Regions from separate parts of the Homo sapiens genome. Here all the other regions are linked to region 3. Evidence: promoter capture Hi-C in 16 types of primary human blood cells and fetal thymus (Javierre and others, 2016). All regions are on one chromosome and are shown on one strand. The core of a region is centred on a gene start or on the middle of the fragment in contact, and the rest is flanking DNA. Distances in the headings are between cores, read along the strand shown. Region 1 overlaps THEM4 (thioesterase superfamily member 4). Region 2 overlaps CGN (cingulin). Region 3 holds the start of CELF3 (CUGBP Elav-like family member 3). Region 4 overlaps TUFT1 (tuftelin 1). Region 5 has its middle 19 kb from the start of CGN. Region 6 has its middle 13 kb from the start of POGZ. Region 7 has its middle 16 kb from the start of THEM5.

What was found. Contacts are between HindIII fragments. The CHiCAGO score rates a contact against its expected background, and 5 or more counts as called.
Region 1: a contact is called between a fragment that was not itself captured here and the fragment with the promoter of CELF3 in region 3, in 1 of 17 cell types (megakaryocytes). The highest score is 5.6, in megakaryocytes.
Region 2: a fragment that was not itself captured here is called in contact with the fragment with the promoter of CELF3 in region 3 in 10 of 17 cell types (M0 macrophages, M1 macrophages, endothelial precursors and 7 more); the score reaches 24.5 in M0 macrophages.
Region 4: a contact is called between a fragment that was not itself captured here and the fragment with the promoter of CELF3 in region 3, in 11 of 17 cell types (M1 macrophages, M0 macrophages, M2 macrophages and 8 more). The highest score is 17.9, in M1 macrophages.
Region 5: a fragment that was not itself captured here is called in contact with the fragment with the promoter of CELF3 in region 3 in 7 of 17 cell types (M0 macrophages, M2 macrophages, M1 macrophages and 4 more); the score reaches 12.4 in M0 macrophages.
Region 6: a contact is called between a fragment that was not itself captured here and the fragment with the promoter of CELF3 in region 3, in 5 of 17 cell types (M1 macrophages, erythroblasts, M2 macrophages and 2 more). The highest score is 8.1, in M1 macrophages.
Region 7: a fragment that was not itself captured here is called in contact with the fragment with the promoter of CELF3 in region 3 in 2 of 17 cell types (M2 macrophages and M0 macrophages); the score reaches 5.4 in M2 macrophages.

What each region holds. Positions count from the first base shown.
Region 1 is chr1:151,885,396-151,888,095 of GRCh38, reverse strand. All of the region lies in intron 4 of THEM4 (thioesterase superfamily member 4), which reads left to right. Among named protein-coding and RNA genes, the nearest start is that of THEM4, 23 kb to the left of the region's middle. The HindIII fragment of the contact is 5,004 bases long and covers 1-2,700 here.
Region 2 is chr1:151,536,177-151,538,876 of GRCh38, reverse strand. It overlaps CGN (cingulin), which reads right to left. Exons shown (of 21, transcript NM_020770.3): 19 at 2,532-2,640; 20 at 1,984-2,147; 21 at 185-1,672. The coding sequence ends at 1,531. Among named protein-coding and RNA genes, the nearest start is that of TUFT1, 2.8 kb to the left of the region's middle. The HindIII fragment of the contact is 471 bases long and covers 1,196-1,666 here.
Region 3 is chr1:151,715,362-151,718,061 of GRCh38, reverse strand. CELF3 (CUGBP Elav-like family member 3) reads left to right here and starts at 1,259. Exons shown (of 13, transcript NM_007185.7): 1 at 1,259-2,186. The coding sequence starts at 2,042. It also overlaps a transcript of RIIAD1 not described here. RefSeq lists an enhancer at 1,035-1,329. The HindIII fragment of the contact is 2,919 bases long and covers 374-2,700 here.
Region 4 is chr1:151,562,280-151,565,033 of GRCh38, reverse strand. It overlaps TUFT1 (tuftelin 1), which reads right to left. Exons shown (of 13, transcript NM_020127.3): 3 at 2,348-2,449; 4 at 1,044-1,130; 5 at 420-509. Among named protein-coding and RNA genes, the nearest start is that of MIR554, 18 kb to the right of the region's middle. The HindIII fragment of the contact is 1,878 bases long and covers 467-2,344 here.
Region 5 is chr1:151,490,923-151,493,801 of GRCh38, reverse strand. No RefSeq gene overlaps it. Among named protein-coding and RNA genes, the nearest start is that of CGN, 19 kb to the left of the region's middle. The HindIII fragment of the contact is 6,284 bases long and covers 1-2,879 here.
Region 6 is chr1:151,471,103-151,473,898 of GRCh38, reverse strand. No RefSeq gene overlaps it. Among named protein-coding and RNA genes, the nearest start is that of POGZ, 13 kb to the right of the region's middle. The HindIII fragment of the contact is 4,139 bases long and covers 1-2,796 here.
Region 7 is chr1:151,867,839-151,870,752 of GRCh38, reverse strand. No RefSeq gene overlaps it. Among named protein-coding and RNA genes, the nearest start is that of THEM5, 16 kb to the right of the region's middle. The HindIII fragment of the contact is 1,301 bases long and covers 734-2,034 here.

The DNA of each region.
Region 1 (2,700 bases), core at 32-2,531, 170 kb before region 3:
AACTCTCAAAAGTCCAGCAAAGCATAGCTTTAGCCAGATCATACAAGAGAGCTCTAGAATGAAATTTATGCCTCAGAATTGTCTCCATCTCAGATGAGGGAGCTAGAGTCTTTATACTCTCGCATGTATTGGTCATAGGATCAGGGCCATCCCAGGGACCATAAATTTCCAAGTACTTCTAAGGGTCTCTGTGTTTGAGCAAAGCAGACTCTAGAGAAAATAACCAAAACAAGTGAAGAAAGGATCCAAGGGGCTCTGGGTGGAGCACCAACATCTACTACATAACAAAATTAATTTTTTAAAAATTTAGCTGGGCCCAGCAGTGCACGTCTGTAGTCCTAGCTTCTTGAGAGGATTGCTTGAGCCCAGGAGTTCAAGGCTACAGTGAGCTAGGATCATGCCACTGCACTCCAGGGTGGGCAACAAGACCCCAACTGTAAAAAAAACAACAACAACAAAAACACACACACACACACAAAACACCGAGTCTTTTCAGTCCACAGGCACAGATGTCTTTCCATTTATTTGTGTCTTTAATTTTTTTCATCAATGTTTTGTAGTTTTCAGTGTATAAGACTTTTGCTCTTTGGTTAAGTTTATTCCTATGTATTTTATTCTTTTTGATTTTTTTATTTTTAATTTTTTTATTATTATTATTATTATTTTGAGACAAAGTCTCACTTTATTGCTCAGGCTGGAGTGTGGTGGCATGATCTCAGCTCATTGCAACATCCACTTCCCAGGTTCAAGCTATTCTCATGCCTCAGCCTGCCAAGTAGCTGGTATTACAGGCATGCACCACCACAGCTGGCTAATTTTTTGTATTTTCAGTAGAGACAGTGTTTCACTTTGTTGGCCAGGCTGATCTCAAACTCCTGGCCTCAAGTGATCCGCCTGCCTTGGCCTGCCAAAGTGCTGGGATTACAGATGTGAGTCACTGCACCTGGCCTTAATTGTTTTCTTAATTTCCTTTTTGGATTAGTCATTGTTTGTGTATAGAAATGCAACTGCTTTTTCTGTGTTGATTTTACATCTTGCAGCTTTGCTGAATTTGTTTATTCATTCTAACAGGTTTTTGTGGAATCTTTAGGATTTTCTATATACAAAGTCATGTCATTTGTAAACAGATCTTTGTACTTCTTCCTTTCCAATTTGAATACCTTTGATTTCTTTTTCTTGCCTAATTGCTCTGGCTAGGACTTCTAGTACCATGTAGAATAGAAGTGGCAAAAGTGGGCATCCTTGTCTTGTTTCTGATCTTAAATGAAAAGGTTTTAGTCTTTTACCATTCAGCATGATGTTAGTTGTAGGGTTTTCATAAATAGCCTTTATTATGTTGAGAGAGTTTCTTTCTATTCCTAGTTGTGCCTTAGATTTTTAACCTTTAAACCCAGATTGTCATTGTACCTCCTTTTAACAATTTTAATAGCAATTACATTGATTCTAGAGATTAATTTGGGGAAAGTTGACATATTTACAGATGGTCAATATTTCATATTAGTTATAACTATAAATTAGATTCTAGAAATCTGGGTTTTCTTAACATGTTAAAGAATATATTAAAAATTAAATTTTTTATATTTTTCCATGTCCCATGTTTTTAAAAATATTTTTCCATGTTCAAATAAAGTTGAATAATGAAGTATAACATCGTTCCTAAAAAAATAAATGTAAACGGTTACTTTGAAAACAAGCTGAAACAAAGTATTTAGATTGCTGTTTATCTCAAAAAGTGTTTGTGTCTTAAGCACATACTCAAATGCAAAATGGGAAACAGAACCTGCCAAACTCTATGCTTAGTGTTTGTCCCACCCAATAAACCATCCACAAAAATCAGTTGCATTGCTGTTCATTTGTTCCCCACAATTGGAAAACATACTGAAAAGAAGTTTTACCTGAAGTCATATGGATAGAGAGCAATTTAGTCAGAATTAGAACTCACATCTTATGACACCAAATCTGATGCTCTTCACTACAACACACAGCCTCCATTGTCTTCTGTTAGTTGATGACTAAAGACCAGAATAAAGTATTGGATTTTATAAGTAGTTTAGAATTTAATATTTATCACTCTCTGTTTTTTTGTATACAGTTATTTAGGTTCATAATAATAGTAATAATATTAAATTTAATATGATTACTTGACAGTCCTTCAAGATGCTACAGGTAACAACCTGGGATTATATTTTAATTGAAAATAATTTGCAGTGTCAATTAATCATCAGATGCCTTAATCTACCTTACTTCCTTTAAGAAGCAAGATTATTCCTTAATGATTTCAAATAATTTCCAGCCCTCTGATCCAAATATCCCACTTGATTTATTTCCTTGTGCCTAGCACATTAAGATAAATAGACAAAGCAGGTCAAACTAGTGATGACAAGCCAGCTGAAAGGGTAAATATCTCAGCATGCCAATGACCCATTCATGACACATGAGTTGAGAAGCTCCTGATTCGATTTCTTCATGCAACATGGCAAACAAGAAATGCTAAAGGACATTCCTCCTTCAAAACAAGTAGATCCTGTACCAAATACACAAGGAAAGAAACTACCAAGGGTGACTATCAACAGAAACAATAAATAAGATTTAGACCTCAGGGATCTAAGATATGATGATAATCAAATACACAATATAAATGAATAAAGTATGAGATGTTTAAAGAAATAAAAGATGAGGCTGGGCACAGTGGCTCACGCC
Region 2 (2,700 bases), core at 182-2,681, 180 kb after region 3:
AGAATGGGGCTGCTATAAACATCTCCAGGTTTCGTAGGTCCCATCTGCTCTGTTCTAAAGGGCCTCTGAAAAGTCAGGTGAAGAAAACTCCAGCTTCGGCTCCTAAGCTGTACAGTTAATATGACTTCATAAAATCTGGACCTCCAAATATGCCAAGAAAAAGAATGAGAAGACAAACCAAGGATTTCAATATAAATGTGTAATTTTAATATTTAATTTAAAATAAAACCAAGGCTGGATTGGATTGGGAAAGAACGTTTGATTTGCAGAAGAATATAGGAATTTTTTTAATCACGACATTACAAGTCATTTGTGAAAACAGCCTTCCTCCTGCCACCGGCTCCCTATACAACCTGCTTAGGAAATATGGAGGTGAATCATCCCCCTTACCTCTTCCCTACCAGGGCTTGGTTCTCCCCAAAATCCAAAGGAGAAATAAATGTCTTCCGTTGCCTCTTCCCATTTTTACAGTCAGCTTCTAACCCCTTGCAAAGCCCTGAATCAGAGCCAAGCACCTCAGAAAATGAGGGTCCCTTGGTTCTCTTATTGAAGTTGGGCACATGTGGTCAGAGAAGCCCCAAGGAAGGCCACAGGGACTGACACCTTTACTTTTGGAATTTGTGCAGCCAGTTGTCAGGGCTCCCAGGTGCAACCACCTTATAACCATATCCACAGTCACAGAGGAGGGAGAGGAGGAAGGATGAAAACCCTGAGCAGGACCAGACCCCCGCCACTTTATCATGACCCTACCAAAGTCCCTCTCCCAGGGGTCATTGGCAGAGAAACCCCAACAGCTCTCTCAATCAATCACTGGGGCAGCAGGGAAGGCTGAGGGCCCTGGCTGGGGAAAAGCTGGTCTTTGGAGAGGTATGAATGTGCAGATATAAAAAGCAAGAAGAGCATCCTTATCTCCTTGCCTTGGCTAAGGCACTGACAGGAAAAATGCAAGGTAGGAATGGCAAAGAGGGGAAAGGAAGAAGACAAAAATATAGGAACTGGAGGGGTATGGGGACTACCACATGGGCCCCATACTTGTGCAAAGAAATGGGTAGAGCCATGCCTGCATGTCTGTTACCCATAACATTCCCCTCACCCTGCTCCAGAGTGGAAGGAAAATGAGTTGCAGGAATCCAGGGAGCACAATAACATAGGGTATTTCCCTGAGCCTTAGGGTTAAGGGCTAAAGAATAAAGCTTTATACACATGGCAATTTCTATCCCTTCCTATCCTTCTCAGTCCCCATCAGCCTAATGCTGACCATCCTTCCACTATAAGAGAGATGAGGGAGGTGTCGGCACTTGAGGAAAAGGCTCAGTTGGCTTGAAATGTCCACTCCTACAGTGGAAAGTCCATCTATCAGCTTATTGCTGATGATTTTTTTTTTTTATCACCATCACTCTGACCCCTCCCTGTCTTAGGTCTGAATAATTGGGTCACCCATAGGAATGCAGAACCCAGGGTGGGCAGAGCAGAGCAGCACTTGCTGGGATAGGCCTCGAGCCTGGTTTCTGAGTCCTTGAGGACCACGAGCTAACAGGAGCTGGTCTGTAGGTTGCTCTCCGTAAGCAGTGATGCAATGGACGAGGGATCGTAGACACTGTCGAATTCCTCATCTGAGCTCAGCCCTTCGTTTTTGAGAGCTGACTCAGCAGCTGAGCGGGAAGCTTTGCGCCTGACTCAGAGAGAAGAATAATGGTTGGGGAGGGGAAAATAGAAATATTAAGACAGCCACCCTTTTTGTACAAAGGAAACCCCAATTCTTCTAAGGCCTAAAGTTTATTCACAAAATCCCCAACTAATCAGATTTGGGGAGGTACAGGATGGTGGCTGAGATACTAATAAATAAATATACTGGCTTCCAACCAGAAACAAGTGACTACACAGTACCATGTTAGAGATTCTCCTCCTTATCCAGCACAGGAGAGACCATTCCCTCCCTGCTCTAGTGTCCCTATGGAGCAAGGGCAAAAGGGTAGCCCATACCAGGAGTCCTTCTCCAGAGACTTGATCCGGGCCTGGAGCTGTTCATTGACCTCATGCTGCTCCTCCACCTCACGCTGGGCCTTCTTCCTCAGGCCGTCCAGTCGCTCAATTTCCTCTTCTGCTTCATCCACCTGACGCTTCAAAGCCTTCACCCTCAGGCTTAGCTGGGCAGGATACCAAGTCCACACATCTGAATAGCATCTACTACCATGGCCTGGGACCCTCCCCCATAACAATCTTGACAAGGTATAATTGCCGCTGGAAAAATGTGGCCTTGGGCAAGTTCCTTAACCTCACATGGTTGTCTTAGGGATTAAATGTATTAACACATGTGTAATACTTACAGAACCTAGCACATCATAAGCACTCAATATATACGCTTACCATGACTTCTCTAGTCTAGTCTTTTCAATCTAATCTCTGTCCTTATACAAGGAAAGTCTAAGTTTGGAGGACCTATAGGAGATAAGGGCCTCCCTTGGCTTTCAGGAAAACATATAATATATACCTGCCCCAGGTTGCTTGGCTCCAGGGTGCCATGTCCTCACCTGGTCTTTCTGGTCATTGACATGCTGCCGCTCGTCTTCAATCTGGATGGATAGTTCTTTAACTTTCCGCTCCAGTTTTCGATTGGTAGACTGCAGAACTGTCTTCTCCCTAAGGTGAGGTAGAAGAATGTCTATGAGTGTCCCCATTTCTAAGGGAATCCTAACTTGG
Region 3 (2,700 bases), core at 10-2,509:
GGGGAGAAGAAGGGAATGACAGGAAGACAGGGTGCTCTACAAAAGCCCAGAGCCCCAGGAGAGCCCCCGTTGCTGAGCACTGACAGAAAGCAAGGGCTACCACCACTGACAAGGTTTGATGTCCACAGATAATCCCTGCACTGAGGGCGTGCTCTGAGTGGGCCCAGTGCATGGAGGGGTCACGCTCCCTCCAGATCGTGGAGCCTGCCAATCATCCATAGAAGTATCCATGGTCAGGGGAGCAATGGTCCCCGAATGTGCCTCCCCTGCTCTTCTGTGCTACCTGGCTCAATTTGAGTCCAACTCAAAGAACCCAACTGAAGAAAGAAGCAAAGGAAAGAGTAATTGGGTTTCTGCATCCTAAGGGGAAGCTTGACAGCTGTGGTTCTTCCCACTGAAGGAATCAGGAATCCACTGTTGTCAGAGGTTGTTTGCATGGAGTGTTTGTTAAGCTCCTGCTACGCATGAGCAAGACAGGGTGCTAGACACTGTGAACAGTAAGATGCTGAATTAAACGGTGTCCTGGTCTTCAAGGAGCTTACAAGTGAGAGCGCCCGCGGCGCCGCCTCCGCGGCCTCCCTGCCCACGCACTTATACACACAAACCCCCCAGAGGGAGAGAAGGGGGCATCGGCAAATGCCAGAAAGCTATCGTTTTTCTTGGTTCCTTTTCTGGAAAATATACAGTTCTCTTTCTGCATTCTTCTCATCCTGCTCCTCCTTCTCCACGTCCCTTTCCATTTTTCCTCTCTGCATTTTTTCTTTTTCCCCCAGACTCTGCGACCTGCTTCCCTCTCCATCTATATCTCCTTTCCCTTCAGCCTATGCAACCGTCCTTTCTCATTTTTCTTTCCCCTGATTTCTTTCCTTGACTCTCTACTCTTGGGGCTCCCCAGATGCCGGGCTCCCCTCTTTCCCCGCCACCCCCCATCTGCTGAGTCTTCCAGCACCGGGGACAGCTCCAGCCCCCGGAACAATGGACCCCACTTTAGGGTTCCTCTATAAATTCTCCATCTTAGTGCTTTGCCCAACTCCTGACTGGGGAGTAAGATGGGGGAAGGGTTATTATCAACAGGACCAGCTGCTCTTCTGGGGGCGGGAAGGGAGTCAGGGAGGATGGAGATAGAAAGAGGGCGTGGCTCGTGCCTGGATTGTGCGTCCCTCTCCAGGGTAGAGAATTTGTATTCGACCCCTGAGACTGACATCACTGATGTCAGGGGAAAGGAGGTGGGAGTGGGGAGGGGGGTGTGGAGGGGGGAGGTTTTTGTTGAGGAGAGCGCGGCCGGAGAGCAGAGCTCCGGGACCCAGGTGACCGGGAAAGCAGGCAGCCCCAGCGGCGGGAGCAGCCGGCAGCAGCCCAGGCCCGGGGACTGGGGTGGGGGTGGGAGGGGGGCTGAGGGGAGGACCTGAAGGGGGGCGGCAGGGCAAAAGGGACCCCTGGAGCCCTGCCGCCATCAGAGATCAAGCATCTGGCATCAGGGATCTTCGGACCCAGCAGAAGGATCCGCCACAGGGGAGGTGTCCTCCCAGGGAAGCCAACGAGAGATTCACCTGCCCCACATCAGGAGTGGGCCCCCCTTACTGACGCTGCTGGCAACCATAGCAGGCCCCTTAACCCCTCAGTCTCCTCCCCATCACCCTCCTCAGGCCCTTTCCCCGCCTCCAGCTCTCATCTCAACTCCCAGTTCCCAGCCCTCTAAGCCCTAGCACCCCCGGCTACCACCTAACCCTCCAGGTCTTGGCCATACTCACCCCCATCCTGGGACATTTGCCAGATCTCTGGGAGGGAGATCGTTTGTTTAGGCGATGCCCCCTGGTGGCATGACAGCGTCTGCCTAGACCCCTGACCCCTAGCACTCAACTCCCTGGGCCTCCTTTGTGTGAAGAGCCGCCCCTCTGCTTAGCAGCGTGGTTGGGGGCCAAAGGGAAAGCCAGCCCCAGCTGGGCCCCCGGGCCCCACCACTTATCTCCTTGCTGGGCAGCTCCCCTTGGCCTTTGGGCCTCTCCCTGCTCCCCTCGGCCCCTCCTCCTGGGCCGCCTCAATGAAGGAGCCGGATGCCATCAAGCTGTTTGTGGGGCAGATCCCGAGGCATCTGGAGGAGAAGGACCTGAAGCCCATCTTCGAACAGTTTGGTCGGATCTTTGAGCTGACTGTCATCAAGGACAAGTACACCGGGCTGCACAAGGGTGAGGGGTCGGGCAGGCTGAAGAGGCTTCGGGGTGGGCTGGGAGGCTGGGGGAAGTTAAGCCAGGCTGGAGGGGTGGAGCGGCTGGGAAGGGCTGATGTGGAAGGAGAAGAGTTCAGGCCTGAGGAAAGTGGATGGAGGAGCTGAAAAAGAACTCAGCTAGAGTGATCAGGAAACCCCGGTGAAGGACTAAGGAGGGCCTCTTTTGGCTGAAGAGTTGTCAAGACGGCTGCAAAGATGTGGATCCCAGACATATGGGTGTGTTGATGTCATGGGATGAACTCAAGAAAGAATGGAGGGACAAGAGAGCTGGTTTGGGAGATAAGCAGCTGGGTAGGGGTGTGTGTGTGTGTGCGTGTGCAGCAAGACTGAGAATCTGAGCAGCCTCAGATAATATTGGGATGGGGGTCAGGACACAGGGTCAGGTGTTCAATGTGGAAAGCGTGGAGCTGGACTGGGCAGGGCAGCTCCAGGACTAAAGAGAGGGACTAGGAAGCAGGGCATGAAGGCTGGAG
Region 4 (2,754 bases), core at 156-2,655, 150 kb after region 3:
AATTTACGCTACAGGTATCACCCAAACTAAGCAAGATCAGCTTATGAGAAGTGTGGATTTACAGGTGATTGTCTGCTTTACAAAATTCTATTATTATAAGAAGCTTGATCACAGAATCCTTATAGATAAGAGGTTTGCTAACAACTGATGATATTTAATTTATATAAGTTCAATTTCTGTACAGTGTTTCAGGAGCAGGTGTACTTATGTTTAAGCTGACATGTGTAAATGTAAGTGCTCATCGGCTGGAGAGTCCTAACCAGATTGTGAGTGCTCCAGAGAAGCCAGCATCACCTCTATTTTCTCCATTCCTGGCAGGGATGCTAGATTTAGCACACACTGGGTAATTGGTAAATGAGACTGCCTGGCACAACCCCACCTCCTCGGTGGGGACCCAACCATGGACCATTTCCTATTACCTGTATCTCCTGTCGATGGAGAGAATCTCCTAGGTTCCTGTCAAGCTTGCTACTTATATCCTCCCGGAGCTTCTGTAGGCAGTTCCTGGCCTGGGAGGGGAGGGGAAGAAACTTGAGCTTTAGGGTAGAGAAAGAGAGCATGCCAACTCACCCAACTCTGTGCCCCATCCCTGGCCTGTACTGCGAGTCAGGCACTGTCCTAACGACTGGCTGCAGGATGGAGGGAGGGACCTTGGTCAAGTGGAGCTACAGCTGACATTCTTGTTGGGGAGACACAAGACACAAAAGACAAATAAGTAAAATGTGTAATATGTTATATGGGCATAAGTGCCAACGAGAAACACGAGCCAGGAAGGGAGTTAAGAAATGCTGTGAAAAGTGGCTGGTAATTTTCGATAGGTGGCTGGGACAGTGCTGGGCCCATAGTACTTAAGTATTTGTGGATTAATGGATCAGGTATGGTCAAAAGTTATATATTTGACACACGGGAGGGCATGGTGGCATTTCAGAGACATAAAGGAAAAAGAAGGGGAAAAACCAGAATCCACAAAAGAAGACAGTCACAAAAAATGTGAGATTTAGAGAAATGACCTAGGCACTGCGTGAGAGGTAAGGGGTGCCCACCTCCTGGATGTACTGGACCTCACTCTTCAGCTGGTTAATATTCTTCTCGTGAATCATCTTGTCTCCAGACCTCCCCTTCAAGTACACCTGAAATAAGAACACCATTTAGTTAAGAAACCTCAAATTAAATTAACTATACAAAAATAGGCAGCTTCATATAGTGCTGGTGGGAGGGTAAATTGTTACCACCAATTTACTGGGTGGAATTTGGTGATTCGGATCAGAAGACCTAAAAATATATTTACTTTTTGGTCTATCAGTTCTACTTCTGGAAATTTACCCTAATGCAATAAATTTAGCTCAATGCTATATAGCTGTATTGGCATAAACACTCACATATATACAGTCATGCATCACTTAATCATAGGAATACATTCTGAGGGATGCATCATTAGGCAATTTCATCCTTGTACAAACATCACAGAGTGTACACACACAAACCTAGATGGCATGGCCTCCTACACCCCTAGGCTGTATGGTGTACCCTATTGCTCCTAGGCTACAAACAAACCTGCACAGCATGTTACTGTACTGAATACTGTAGGTGATCGTCACACAATGGTAATGTATCTAAACCCAGAAAAAATACAGTAAAAATGGAGTATAATAATCTTATGGGACCACTGTTGTCTACGCAGTCCATCACTGACCAAAACGTTGTTATGCAGTTTTGTTATGCACTGACCAAAACTGTAACTGAGTCAATCATGTGGTATGGGATTTATATCTAAAAAAGCTGTTTTATAAAAAAAAAGAGAGAGAGAAATAACAAAAATCATTTTATTTTTTAAAAAATAAGTTCCATCAGCCAGGTGGGCTGGTGCACGCCTATAATACCAGCATTTTGGGAGGCTGAGACAGGACGATTGCTCGAGCCCAGGATTTGGAGACCAGCCCAGGGAACAAGGCGAGACTGTCTCTACAAAACTAAAAATATATAAATAAATAAATAAGTTCCATCAGGATGAACCCATTATAGGAAAACATAAGTTCCATAAACACACCTCCTACCTGTCTCCACAACCTCTAGCAGCAAAACATGGTCAGTGGATAGGCCCCTAGTAAGGTCATCCAGTCCATCCCCTTGCCTGGGGCCAGGCTGCACCAAAGTTGCTAACAGGCAGACTGTAGTCTCCTGGTATTAATTAAGATATTTCTAGGAGATTGCCAGGAACTAGCAGCTCAGGTCTGGTTCCTTCCATCAAACCACAAGCTCCCTTTGGCAACAACATCAACTGCTCCTTCTCATATACGTGCAGGGAGGAAGAGGACAGGGAGAAAAGTTGGAGGTGAACTAAGCTTACCTTAATGATCTCCTCATGTCCATCATGGGACTCCACCAGTTCTGAAGCCAGAGAATGACCAGCTGAGTGGCTGGACACCATGGCATAGGTCTTCCTGCCCGCCTGGCCAAAGAGAGATGAGAGAGAGAGAGAGAGAGAGAGATGGCTCAGACACCACATGGCAAGCCCAGAACTCCTGCCCCTCAGCTAATGCAGAAGACCTGTTTCTCAAAAGACTTGAAGGATTAGTCTGACTTTCCTCTCCAAAAATTCGTTTCCGAACTTCTAACAGAAGCCACACAGCAGCAAGAACACCGGCCAGGGAGAATGGACAGAAGTAGCAGTTTAGTTTTAATTTTAGTGGGGGACTCCTCCTGCCCCAAAGCAGTGCAGAAGGCTGAGGCAAGCTGGATGTTGCTGAAAGGAGG
Region 5 (2,879 bases), core at 129-2,628, 220 kb after region 3:
GTGCAGTGGCGCAATCTTGGCCCACCTCCTGGGTTCAAGAGATTCTCCTACCTCAGCCTCCCAAGTAGCTGGGACTACAGGTGTGTGCCATCACACCCGGCTAACTTTTGTATTTTTGGTAGAGATGATGTTTCATCATGTTGTCCAGGCTGGTCTTGAACTCCTGACCTCAGGAGATCTGCCCGCCTCAGCCTCCCAAAGTGCCGGAATTACAGGTGTGAGTCACCGCACCTGGCCATATTTCTTTCCTTTCTATTCACCATCTTCAAGCAGTTTATATGCAGTAATTCCAAGTTCCCTTGTCCCTCACCTGCAGTTGAGCTTGGAAACTGAAGGCTTTTCTGAGTCCTCCTTCTACCGGATGTCTCTTGTGCTTCTGCTCCCTATTTTTTCACACTCTTTTCTCCTTGGATTTCTATACCACTGCTCTATTATTTTCTACAGCTCTAGCCCTCCCCTGTCCCTGTGGGTACTTTTTTCCTTTCTCAGCTATTCCCCATAGCTGTGAAAAAGCTCTTTCCTTTCCTCTGCCCTCCACTCTTCCCCTTCAGTGGCTCATTCACTCTCATGCTTTCTCCTGCCACCTCCAAAAGCAGACAACTTTCAAATCTCCATTTTAAACACCGACCTCTCATCCATGTACTGAATCAGTATTTAACTTTCTCCAGAACTTTTGCACTTGTACGTCTCATCTCTACTTAGGACACAGACAAACCAAGCAAAGTAACTTCCCCCGTATACCAGCACTCCTTCTCAAATTCCCTGTCTTTACTTTTTGCAGCCCCCAATATATATATATATTTTTGAGACGCAGTCTCACTCTGTTGCCCAGGCTGGAGTGCAGTGGCGTGATCTCGGCTCACTGCAAGCTCCACCTCCCGGGTTCACACCATCCTCCTGCCTCAGCCTCCTGAGTAGCTGGGACTACAGGCACCCACCACCACGCCTGGCTAATTTTTTGTATTTTTAGTAGAGACGGGGTTTCACCGTGTTAGCAGGATGGTCTCATTCTCCTGACCTTGTGATCTGCCCGCCTTGGCCTCCCAAAGTGTTGGGATTACAGGCGTGAGCCACCGCGCCCGGCCTGCAGTCCCCAGTATTAGAAGGAGCAACTTCTTGCTTAGAGTTGCACTGGAGACTCGGTACTAATAATACCTGCCAGCTACCCTAAATAGGAAAGAAATTTAAATAAATTAATAGATACAAAACAAGTTTATGGCCATAGGTGGGGGTAATCTCAACCTTTGGCAAGCAAGGCTAGAAAGTAGCATCAGACTTCAAAGAAAACTTACCATTGTTAGGTTCAAGTCAGAGGGCAAAGAAGGAAAGTGCAGGACACTGGAGGGGATATAGGAGGTGGGAGGGCATCTGAGAACCTCAGAGAAGGAAGACTGAAGCAGGAGGGAGAATGGAGATAGGGATCTTGTGTGTGGGAAAACACACAAACTCAGAGTGTTTGTTCCTGTTATCTCACTCAACAGTAACAATCAACACAGACAGAAGACTCCTGTGACCAAATATGGAGGATTTCTCCCCACCAGCAAACAAGCAATCAGTTCTGCAGCAGACACCAGCTGGGTGTCCTCTAATTCGATTCTGACACCATCTACCAAGAGGCCACAGGTTGAGGGCTCAAACCCCAAAACTGCCCCCACCCACCCCATTCAGACACCAGTCAAAACCCAAGACTCCAGAATTTCTGACCCAGCAGATTCAAGTTGGGGCTCCTACAGCCCCCTCTTTGGACTCAATTCATTTGCTAGAGCAGCTCACAGAACTAAGGGAGACACTTCGTTTACCAGCTTATTAGAAAGGATATGACAGAGGATGTGAATGGAGAGATGCATGTCTGTTAGATTCTTCTTGGTCTCTCTATGCAGCCTTCCTTCCTCCAGGCTACGGGGTAGGACCCTCTCTGCAATCAGGGTCTTATGACTCACAATCAGATTAGAGTCCTGCATCTGGCAGGTGCAATGAGAACAGGAAGGCCCGGTGTGGTGGCTCATGCCTGTAATTCCCACACTTTGGAAGGCCGAAGCAGGTGGATTGCTTGAGCTCATGAGTTTAAGACCAGCCTGGGCAACATAGGGAGAGTGTCTCTACAAAAAATAAAAAATTAGCCGGACATGGTGGTGCACACTTGTAGTCCCAGCTACTCAGGAGCCTGAGGTGGGAGGATTGATTGAGTACAGGAGATCAAAGCTGCAGTGAGCAGTGATTACACCAATGCACTTCAACCTGGGCAACAGAGTGAGACATTATCTCAAAACATAAATAAATGAATAAATAAATAAGAGCGGGAGAAAGTCAGATAGCAAGAAAGTCTGCTTTCTGAGGCCGGCCTCTGAATCCTAAAGTGTCCTAACATTATAACAAAAGACTGTAGGCCGGGCACGGTGGCTCACGCCTGTAATCCCAGCACTTTGGGAGGCCAAGGCAGGTGGATCACCTGAGGTCGGGAGTTCAAGACCAGCCTGACCAACATGGAGAAACCCCGTCTCTACTAAAAATACAAAATTAGCCGGGCGTGGTGACGTATGTCTGTAATCCCAGCTACTTGGGAGGCTGAGGCAGGAGAATCACTTGAACCCAGGAGGCGGAGGTTGCAGTGAGCCAAGATTGCGTCATTGCACTCCAGCCTGGGCAACAAAAGTGAAACTCCATCTCAAAAAAAAAAAAAAAAAGAAAAAGAAAAAGAAAAAAAAAAAGACTGTAACAGGGGCATTGAGAGATATGAGCCAGGAGCTGTGGCCACATAGACTTCACATATCTACACTTAACTATTAATATTTGCTGATTCTGTATACTGTGCATGGTTAGCTCAGATAGAGTTTTGCTCCCATTAGTCAGTGAATTGACGTGGGATGACGATGATAAAA
Region 6 (2,796 bases), core at 28-2,527, 240 kb after region 3:
CCTAGGAGCCTGATGTTGGGCCCTGTTAAAATGTTATTTACATCTAAATTAATTTGAGAGAGAAAAAGAAAGTAGGAAAAACTATATTTTAAATATCACATTTTTTTTTCCTCCACTTCATTTTCTGCACTCCTACTATGGCTCCCTTAACTCAGTCTGAGGCCAAGAGATTATGATGACAAAAGAGAAATGATCAATAAGAAAAGGCGGCTCCTGAAAACCCAAGCCCACTCGAGGGTTCAGACCTCGAATCCCACCCTTCGGAGCCTCGCCGCTCCCTCCCGGGTTGCGGGCGCCAGCAGAGGAGCGCAGGGCGGACACTGCCCTTTTCTGGACTTCGGTGCTCTTCACCCCGCTTCCCAGTGCCTCCTGCCGCCCCGCGGCCTCCACACCCACGCGCCGCGGGCCCCCGCGCCTTCGCGGCTCCAGCTGTCCCCTCCCGGTATACCCACCCACCCGCACGTCCAACGCCCTTTTTTCCCCCCCCGAAAACTTTCTAGACGGTAGGGACTATTTTCTTCTAATGTAACCTTCCACCAAACTGGAGGGAAAAGTTACCCGAGGCCAGAGAAGGGCTGGGGACGTGGGAGGGACTCACAAGATCCCTGGTTCTAAAAACAGAGGTCTCTTTCCATGAAAGTGAGTAACTGGGCCCCCAAGCCAGAGTTTTGTTTGTTGGATTAATTGGTCAAGGTGCACGTTGAAGCTAAATATCTTAAATGGAGATTTTTAAAAAATGGATATAAAATAGACTCCACTAGACAAATGGTTCTTGTCTTCAGACCTTGCAGTTCTTTCTATTGATTCTCATGTTATCTGTCCCTCCCTACCCCGGGCTCCCACGTCATGAGGTTCACGTATAGGGAAATCCAGGTCACTTCAGTATGATGACTTCATAAACCCTAGAGGAAGAAGTCAAATCTAGAAACTGCTCTTTGAGGCAGTTTGCTGAATTCTATTCTGTATTCTGGAAAGGTAAGCTAACCTGCAGAAATAGTTAATGATTGGGATAATCCTCTAGACCTTCTTTTTCAAACTGGGTGGCAAAATCAGTTTGACAAGCAGTATTAAGAAGGAAGGAGAGGACGGAATGATGGAAGAAAGGGCTGGGCACAGTGGCCCAAGCTGTAATCCCTGCACTTTGGGAGGCCGAGGCAGGGGGAACACTTGAGGCCCCAGGTTGGAGACCAGACTGGGCAACATAGGGAGATCCCATCTCTACAAATAAAAATAAAACTAGCCGGGTGTGGTGGTGCACTTCTGTGGTCCCAGCTACTCCAGAGGCTGAGGCAGGAGGATTGCATGAGCCCAGGAGTTCAAGGCTGCAGTGAGCCATGTTTTATAAGCCACTGCACTCCAGCTTGGGCAACGGAGCAAGACACTGTCTCAAAAAAAAAAAAAAAAAAAAAAGAGGTGTAATAAAAGAGAATAGAAAGCTATCACATAGTGAATATCAGTAGTCTTTCATACAATCTGAATCATGAAAAGTACTGTGTGTTTGTGTGTAGCCAGTCAAGATGTAGAATATGCTTTTTACTGTGGGTGGCTGTCAAAAAATGTTTAAAAACCACTGTGCTAGACAGTGGAACTTTTTAAGGATGCTTAGATTGGAAAGGTTGAAAAGTCATCTAATTTATTCCTCTATACTTAGACAGTATTTCATTTTAAGAATAGTACAGACTTTAATTACCTTTCTTGCTTATCATCTCATCTCAACATTTCCTACTAATGATTTGTGAATAATTTGTCTCTTTAAAGCTATTATTTCAGTAAAGAAAGCTATAACTTTCTTTACTGAAAGAAAGTTATACAAAGGCAATTCTGCCAAGTTCCCTTTTTTTCTATGGCTCTTCTATCCTGTCCCCTGGGCAGTGGACATATTACAAATGTGCCTGAAAGATCTGTCTCCAGTGGAGTCCCAGAGAAATCTGAGTTGCTGGAATATCATGTCATCAGATACCCCCATGGATCTATTTTACTTTATTTTAAAATTTGAATTTTTATTTATCTTTTTTCCCCTTATTATTTATTTCTAAAATTTCATCCACCCATATAGGTTATATGAAAGCCTGAAGGTCTTTGTTTGTTTGTTTGTTTGTTTTGAGATGGAGTCTTGCTCTGTTGCCCAGGCTGGAGTGCAGTGGCGCAATCTCAGCTCACTGCAACCTCTGCGTCCTGGGTTCAAGCAATCCTCCTGTCTCAGACTCCTTAGTAGCTGGATTTACAGGCGCACACCACCACGCCCGGCTAATTTTTGTATTTTCAGTAGAGACGGGGTTTCACCATTTTGGTCAAGCTGTTCTCGAACTCCTGATCTCAGGTGATCCACCTGCCTTGGCCTCCCAAAGTGTTGAGATTATAGGCATGAGCCACCGCATCCAGCCAGAAAGCCCAAAGGTCTTGAATTGACTTTGTCCCTTCTCAAGTAGGGGAGCTCTCTGTCATGCTAACAAGTTTGTGACTGAAACTTTCTATCTTTACACCCATTTCTTCCCCCCATTACACACACTCCAATCTGGCCACTTTCAGTAGCTTAACGTTTGGATTAAAACGCCCAAATTGGGCCCGGTGCGGTGGCTCATGCCAGTAATCCCAGCACTTTGGGAGGCCGAGGCAGGTGGATCACTTGAGGTCAGGAGTTCAAGACCAGCCTGGCCAACATGGCAAAAGGGGTTTAATACAGATGGGGTCTCTATTAAAAGTAAAAAAGTTAGCTAGGCGTGGTGGTGGGCACTTGTAATCCTAGCTACTGGGTACTCGGGAGGCTGAGGCAGGAGAATCACTTGAACCTGGGAG
Region 7 (2,914 bases), core at 135-2,634, 150 kb before region 3:
AGCTCATATCCTACATGTTCCTATGTTCCCTATCCCATTACCTTCTCAGGACGCTTAACCTCTTCTGGGGACTTATGAAGCCAAATTATTGTCTTACCTAATGGATGACCATCATGGGACCCTAGTCAAACATATTTTTCAGGACCAAGTATACAACATCCTCTGTGATGGAGACAATGAGGCAATCTTTCAAATTTAAGTCACTAAAGTCATGAATTTTATGTCTCAGAAAAGTTTGAAATTTCACTTGATAGTATTCTTGGTCTGGCACTACTCTGGCCAGTTTAGAATTACAGAATTGGTTTATTCCTTCTCAATTATAGATTTAAAATTAAGTGGACTGCAGACAAAGATACCATAAGAGGAAAAAAAAAGTCAAAACTACAGATCAATATCCCTTACGAGTATAGATGCAAAAATACTCAACAAGATAACAAGCAAATCCAATAGCACATTAAAAAGATTATATGCTATGACCAAGTGAGATTTATCCCAGAAAGGCAGAGGTGGTTCAACATAAGAAAATAAATCAATGTAATACACCACATTTATACTTCAAGAGAGTAAAACCACATGATCATCTCAATTGGTGCAAGGAATGGCATTTGACAAAATCCAACACCCTTTCATGACAAAAAGCACTCAGAAAACTAGGAATAGAAAAAGACTACCTGAACATAATCTAGAAAAATGCACAGCTGGTATCACACTCAGTGATAAAAGACAGAAAGCTTTCCCCTAACGTTAGGAAAAAGGTAAGGATTTCCACCTTCACTACTGCTATTCAATATAGTACTGGAAGTCTTACCCAGAGGAATTAAGCAAGAAAAACAAAAACAGCTTGCAAATTAGAAAGGAAGATGTAAAATTATCTCTATTTGCAGATGACATGTCTACATATAGAAAATCCCAAAGAATTCACCAAAAAAACAAAACTAGCACTAATAAATAAATTCAGCAAAATTGCAGGGTACAAAACTTCATTGGCTGGGTGCGGTGGCTCAAGCCTGTAATCCCAGCACTTTGGGAGGCCGAGGCAGGCGGATCACAAGGTCAGGAGATCGAGACCATCCTGGCTGACATGGTGAAACCCCATCTTTACTAAAAATACAAAAAATTAGCCAGGCATGGTGGCGGGTGCCTGTAGTCCCAGCTACTCAGGAGGCTGAGGCAGGAGAATGGCATGAACCCGGGAGGCGGAGCTTGCAGTGAGCCGAGATTGCGCCACTGCACTCTAGCCTGGGCGACAGAGCAAGACTCCATCTCAAAAAAAAAAAAAAAAAATTCATCTTTTGTGCATTAAAGAATAATATCAGTGAAGTGAAAAAAAATCCCTACAGAATGGGAAAAATATTTGCAAATTATATATCCAAAAAGGTGTTCGCATTCAGAATATATAAGGAATTCTTACAACTCAACAACAAAGAACCCAGTTTAAAAATGGGGGAAGAACTTGAATGGACATTTCTCCAAAGAAGATATGGAAATGGAAATGGCTAACAAGTATATGAAAAGAGCCTCAACATCACTAATCATTAGAAAAATGCAAATCAAAACCACAATGACCACACCTACTAAAATGCCTATAATTTTTTTATTTTATTTTATTTTTTTTTTTTGAGATGGAGTTTCGCCCTTGTTGTCTAGGTTGGAATGCAATGGCGCGACCTGGGGTCACTGCAACCTCCGCCTCCCAGGTTCAAGTGATTCTCCTGCCTCAGCCTCCCAAGTAACTGAGATTACAGGCACCCACCACCACACCTGGCTAATTTTTTTGTGTATTTTTAGTAGAGATGGGGTTTCACCATCTTGGCCAGGCTGGTCTATAATTTTTCGTTTTTAAAAACAGTGTCAAGGAGGATGTAAAAAAAAAAAATAGAAACTTCATACATTGCTGGGTGAATATAAAATAATGCAGCTGCTACGGAAAATTTGGCAGTTCCCCAAAAAGACATACAATTACTATATGACCCAGCAATTCCACTGCTAGGTATAAATAAAAGAGAAATGAAAACACGCATCCACACAGAAGCTTGTACACTAGTGTTTATAATAGCATTATTCGTAATAGCCAAAATGTGGAAACAACCCAAATGGCCATTAATGAATGAATAGATAAACAAATTGTAGTACACACACACACACACATAATAGACTATTATTCAGCCATACAAAGGAATGAAATACTGAAACATGCTGCAGCTTGGATAAACCTCAAAAGCATCACATTAAGTGAAAGAAAACAATACTATATTTAGAATAGGCAACTCCATAGAGACAGAAAATAGATTAGTGATTGATATGGTTTGGCTGTGTCCCCACCCAAAATCTCATCTTGAATTGTAATCCAAATTGTAATCCCCATGTGTTGGGGACAGGACCTTGTGGAAGGTGATTAGATCATGGGGGCAGTTCCCCCATGCTGTTCTCGTGGTAGTGAGTGCATTCTCATGAGATCTGATGGTTTTATAAAGGGCTTTTCCCCACTTCACTCAGCACTTCTCTCTCCTGCTATGTCAGGAAGGATGTGTTTTCTTTCCTTTTTGCCATGATTGTAAGTTTCCTGTGTCCTCCCCAGCCATGCAGGACTGCGAGTCAATTAAACTTCTTTCCTTTAGAAATTTACCCAGTCTCGGGCAGTTCATAGCAGTGTGAGAATGGACTAATACAGTGCTTGCTAGGGGAATGAGGGTGGTGCGCATGGAGGAGAGAACAGGAAGTGATTTAAGTGATTACTTACAATACTGTTTTTCTAGGGTGGTAAAAAAGTTTTAAAACTAGAGAAAGGTGGTAGTTGCACAACATTGTGAATGTACTAAATGCCAATGAGTTGTACATTTTTAAATGATTCAGCTGAGGGTGGTGACTCATGCCTGTAATCTTAACGCTTTGGGAGGCCAAGGCGGAAGGATCC